Linked DNA regions of Homo sapiens: region 1 is linked to region 2. Evidence: promoter capture Hi-C in 16 types of primary human blood cells and fetal thymus (Javierre and others, 2016). All regions are on one chromosome and are shown on one strand. The core of a region is centred on a gene start or on the middle of the fragment in contact, and the rest is flanking DNA. Distances in the headings are between cores, read along the strand shown. Region 1 overlaps LOC105369422 (a long non-coding RNA gene). Region 2 holds the start of CCDC90B (coiled-coil domain containing 90B).

Region 1 (2,700 bases), core at 116-2,615, 3.7 Mb after region 2:
AATACAGAAATTAGCCGGGTGTGGTGGTGGGTGCCACTAATCTCAGCTAGTGAGGCAGAAGAATCACTTGAGCCCAGGAGGCGGAGTTTGCAGTGAGCCGAGATCGTCCCATTGCACTCCAGCTTGGGTGACACAGCAAGACTCCGTCTCAAAAGAAAAGAAAAGAAAAGAAAATCAGAATCATATGTAGCTTTGTGAAAAGCTTGGTTACTGACTGTTGCTGGAATCAAGAGCTACTACAGTGTCATACTTCGAGTTTGCCGTACTTTGCCATTGTACTTGTGCCTGATAATTATTTCTACAATGACTGCATGTAGATCTAAACTAGATTAGTGTCGTTAAATCCTCTGCATTAGATCTTAAGAGCTCTTCCATTCTTTTTCGTTGACATCTTCAAAACTAGAATCCTACAAGAGCAACAACTTTGTGTTTTTTTTTTTTTTTTCATTCTTCCATCACAAAGAAAGGGGCAACAATTTTCATCTTGGCGTTTCTTCAAAGCCTTTGAATTCCATCATAAATTGCCAGATTAGTTTTCTTCATCCACTGTGCACCTTCTTTGGAGAAACTCTTTGCTTCACCTTGTTGATGAACCCTAAAGCCCTCCCTGCGTTTTTTTAATGAAAAAGAAGAAACAATGAAGCCCCCAGAAAGTATCCAATCAAGCCACTGTCATAGCCAACCTAAAAGAATAAATGACCCATGCAGATGCAATGTTTAACATTATCTTTAAACTTAATGGTGGCATGAAGAGAAGGCTTTCTTTTAAAAAACAGCCTGCTATATCTTATAATACCATATAAAGAAATTTACAAATGTAAGCTACTGGTTTAACTGCATACTGCTCCATTTTGCAATTTTTTTTGCATCCTAAAGCACAGATCATCTCCCCTGAGGATTTATCAATGCCTTCCTGTTTTGGAATCTCCATAGCAGCACTAGAAAAGATAGAGTATCCTTTCTTTTGAACTTGGGAGTTTCCCTGAAATCACCCCTTTGCCACCCAGCTCATCAGCATTGTCCCCTTTGGCACCATCCCCTTTTTCTCAAATTTCTTTATGCTTCAAGTCTCCATTTAACAGTTAATTAGGACCAGGTGTGTTGGTGCACACCTGTAATCCCAGCAGTTTGGGAGGCTGAGGTGGGTGGACAGCTTGAGCCCAGGAGTTCAAGAGCAGTCTGGGTAACACAGGGAGACCCTACAAATAATTTAAAAACATTAGCCAGGTGTGGTGGCGTACCTGTGGTCCCAGCTACTCAGGAGGCTGAGGCAGGAGGATCTCCTGAGCCCAGGGGATATAGGCTGCTGTGAGCTGTGATTGCGCCACTGCACTTCAGCCTGGGTAGCAGAGTGAGACCATGTCTCAAAACAAACAAAAAACAGTTAACTAAAAGAAACCACCTGGTTTTAATTGTAATTTTAAAATTTCCTTATTTATTAATGTGTAATTGCTGGGCCACATAGTAAACATATTGTTTATTATCAGGCATGAAAACTATATTGTGCTATTACATTCAGAAGCAACTGAGAGTTAACAATCATATTAAAAATTTTTTTTTTTTTGAGACGGAGTCTTGTTCTGTTGCCCAGGCTGGAGTGTAGTGGCACCATCTCGGCTCACTGCAACCTCCGCCTCCCAGGTTCAAGTGATTCTCCTGCCTCAGCCTCCTGAGTAGCTGGGATTACAGGTGTCCACCACCATGTCTGGCTACTTTTTGTATTTTTAGTAGAGATGGAGTTTCACCATAGGCCAGGCTGGTCTTGAACTTATGACCTCAGGTGATCCACCAAGCTCAGCCTCCCAAAGTGTTGGGATTATAGGTATCAGCCACCGTGCCCAGCTCGTATTAATTGTTTGGTGAATAAGATGTTATTTGTATAGTATTGTACATCTTAACATGATCATTTTTTGTTAATATTTGATACTATGTTTTAAATACTTGTTAAGAATTTTTTGGTTGATATGTAATGCATTTTATTTTTTCCCATTTAAAACTAAGTTCCTATTCAGCATTTTCTTGTGAAAGGATCACAGATATTCAGGAATGGATTATTGAAAAAAAATAAGCCTGCACTGCTATTTCTGTAATTTTTTGGATAAGTTTATGCTGTGTTTTTGATCTTCTTAGTTTCTGAATTGGAGATTTGAAAAAAATTGTGATTATCTTGTTCCTATTCTACCATTGTATATTGGATGTGTTGAGGCGGATGATAACTTTATCATGAGATCTGCATCTGGTCCTGAGGAATATTCTGGACTTTGGCTAGGATTCAGCAACTGCATGGAATTTTAGGTTGTCTCCCTTGGAAAAGGGAAGGTATGTCTATCTGTAGAAAGAATGGTGTGCCCGGATATTTGGGTAGCCAGAGACATAGAACTATGGCAGACACTGCTAGTTGCCTCTAATATCTGTTTTTTCCATTTTGCTCAGTAATAAAACCTCAAATGTTAGCTGGGCATTTGTCCCATTAATTAAAAAAGATTGTATTCACCATCCTCTCTTGCAATGAAGTGTGGCCATGTGATTAAGCTTTGTCCAAGGAACGTAAGTTGTAGTAGTTTGTATGGATCTTCTGGGAAGTTTTTTTAAAAACAGGAAGTATGCCCTTTTCTCCCCGCCCCCGCCCCCCCGTTTTTTTTTTTTTTTTTTTTTTGAGATAGAGTCTCTCTCTGTTGCCAAGGCAACAGTGGTGTGATC
Region 2 (2,700 bases), core at 21-2,520:
AGTGTTTGGGTACCGAATGGCTCAGCGTACCTGGCACTGAAGATTCAAGAAGGTGAACAGAGATAAGAGGTGCCTATTCGCCTATTTTGTGGACAACCTTAAAACGGTTTAAAAACTGGGAGGGAAGTTAAAAAACTGGGGGTGAAAAACAACGACGACAACAAAAACCTAGCCCTAGAAACATTTCTCTGAATAAAGTTAGATGTCTTCAGGACACCCTGTTAACAGGGGTGCCAACAGGTTGGAAACTTGTGGGTTCCAGTATTCACTTATTTTCCCAAAGTCTACAATGTGACTGAAATGTACTGAGAATTCCAGTGAGAATAAGGCAGACGTGGCCTGAAATTTATGATGCTGTCTACCAAAAACCTGGGCTCGAGGCCAGCACCTAAAAAAACAAAATCAAAATTTGATCAGGCCACAAAAGAAAACAGGACACCCTCAAACACAGATTACCTTACGTTGGCTCCTGACGAGATTACTAGCCTCTTGTCACCAAAAAACGGAAACAACGGCTGAGAAAGAAGCCGGGCGCGAAGCCCAGGCCTTCAAAGGTTCGCTTTAAGAACAGAAAGGCAGTGCTTTCCTCAGTCCTCGCCCCTTGGGGCGAGCTGGGCAAGTCGGGGCAGCAGGCAGCGGCGTCGCCCAGCACAAGGCGTGAATCCGGGAGGAGGGCGTGGCACCTTCTCTTCCCGTTCGCTCGAGCAGGCGCGACCCCACGGGCATCGTCTCCCTAGAGAGCACTCAGGCATCTATGACACGACGCCTTGCCTCACCTCTCCGCAGGGCCGGCGAGAAATGCCCGCGGGGCCTTGAAACCCAACGATCTCCTCTGCCTTGGGAGAGAAAGAGCCGCCAAGCCTGGCGACTATTCATGTCCTCAGAGTTTTCCGGTGGGAGGGAGGCGGAAGACGGGGTAAATCTCGCACAGGCTTTCGGGCAAGGTAGTTCTGGCACCACAGGAATGCTGGGAATTGTAGTTTTCGCTCTGTCACAAGCTCACCTCCCAGCGCAGGCGCCACCGTGGTCCCACGAAACTGGGTCTCTTCACAGACAGACCCACAGTTCGCGAGCATGGCTCAGCGCTGCCCCGCTTCTCCCAGCGCCCCTTCCCGACCTTTGAACGCCTTCACCGCCCTAGGAAAGCGAGATCTTGTCAGAGAACCTTCCGGCGCCTGTTTCCTGGCAGTGGGGCATAGTCCAACAGCTGGCTCCCCCAAGATAGCCAGCGGCCATTACGCGCTTGGGTCGGGGGAGATGGAGTCGCATTTAGCCGCACAGCAGCCTGGAACCTGAAGTTTTCGGCCGCTGAGCGTTCTGGGTGATTGCGTAGTGCGAGGGCCAACGAAACCTTCTGGGAAGTGTAGTCCAGCAAGCCGCTCACTTTTCGTGAGGCGTCACATCCTGCTGCTTCACCCTCTGGTGCACGGGAGGACCAACTATTTCAGTCGGTATGTCCTTTCTTTAGGGAAGCCGAATTCCTCCGTTTCTAGGAGAAATTCCTTGAATTTTCACCATTTATCCTTCTCAGACCTCAGTTACTCAAGACTGCTCCGCATAGTAAAATGCTGAAAGCAACAATGCACAGTAGTTGTATTAAAATGCACTAATACTCATGAATATTCTCTGTAAGTTGTAAAATGGCACACAGTTGTGCGGTGTTAGTGGCTTACTCTCTCAAGATTCTAAACAATTACGGCTAGGTTTCTATCTATATGTATTCAAAGCTTTGTGAGAGTCAACTAAGTAACAAACACCATTTCTAAGGCCCGAAGCACATTGAAAGAACAAAACTTGATTCCCGCCAACAACTGCTTTAACAGACAATTCATGAAGAGGAAATATAAATTGCTATTTAAAACACTGGGATGGCTGGGCGTGGTGGCTCATGCCTGTAATTCCAGCACTTTGGGAGGCCGAGGCGGGCAGATCACCTGAGGTCGGGAGTTCGAGACCAACCTGACCAACGTGGAGAAACCCTGTCTATATTAAAAATACAAAATTAGCCGGGCGTGGTGGCACATGCCTGTAATCCCAGCTACTCAGGAGGCTGAGGTAGGAGAATCGCTTGAATCCTGGAGGCGGAGGTTGCAGTGAGTCGAGATCACACCATTGCACTCCAGCCTGGGCGACAGAGTGAGACTCGATCTAAAAAAAAAAAAAAAAAATTGGGAAAAAAGTTTGATCTTACCAGTTTCAAAATACAAAACGCAAAACCTTAGGGTATATCGAGGTTAGGGGTCCCAATGATCCCAACAGGATGTAAGCATAGTACTCAACAGGTGCTTTTTCAACCCATGCCCCTCTGTCCGTCTCCCCCTTTCCTCATCTAATGATCCTCAATGCCTGTTGTTTCCACGTTTACCATCATATATTCAATGTTTAGCTCCTACTTATAAGTGAGAACATGTGTATTTGGTTTTCTGTTCTTGGCATTAGGTTGCATAGGATAATGGCTCCAGTTCCATCCATGTTGCTACAAAGAGTATAATTTCCTTATTTTTATGGCTGCATTATATTCCATGGTGTATATGTACCACATTTTCTTTATCCAGTCCACTGTTGATGGGCACTTAGGTTGATTTCATGTCCTTGCTATCGTGAATGGCACTACAATGAACATACGGTTGCATGTGTCTTTTTTTTTTTTTTTTTTTTTTTGGCTTGAGGCAGGGTTTTGCTGCGTCACTCAGGCTGGAG

The links. The method cuts DNA at HindIII sites, captures the fragments that hold promoters and counts their contacts. A CHiCAGO score of 5 or more calls a contact.
Region 1: a fragment that was not itself captured here is called in contact with the fragment with the promoter of CCDC90B in region 2 in 2 of 17 cell types (non-activated CD4 T cells and total CD4 T cells); the score reaches 7.6 in non-activated CD4 T cells.

Annotation. Positions count from the first base shown.
Region 1 is chr11:87,033,631-87,036,330 of GRCh38, forward strand. All of the region lies in intron 1 of LOC105369422 (a long non-coding RNA gene), which reads right to left. Among named protein-coding and RNA genes, the nearest start is that of TMEM135, 3.0 kb to the right of the region's middle. The HindIII fragment of the contact is 2,330 bases long and covers 201-2,530 here.
Region 2 is chr11:83,285,097-83,287,796 of GRCh38, forward strand. It overlaps CCDC90B (coiled-coil domain containing 90B), which reads right to left and starts at 1,271. Exons shown (of 9, transcript NM_021825.5): 1 at 777-1,271. The coding sequence starts at 876. It overlaps CCDC90B-AS1 (CCDC90B antisense RNA 1), which reads left to right and starts at 1,024. Exons shown (of 3, transcript NR_186344.1): 1 at 1,024-1,451. RefSeq lists enhancers at 44-640, 529-608, 641-1,236, 659-1,308. The HindIII fragment of the contact is 4,800 bases long and covers 1-1,725 here.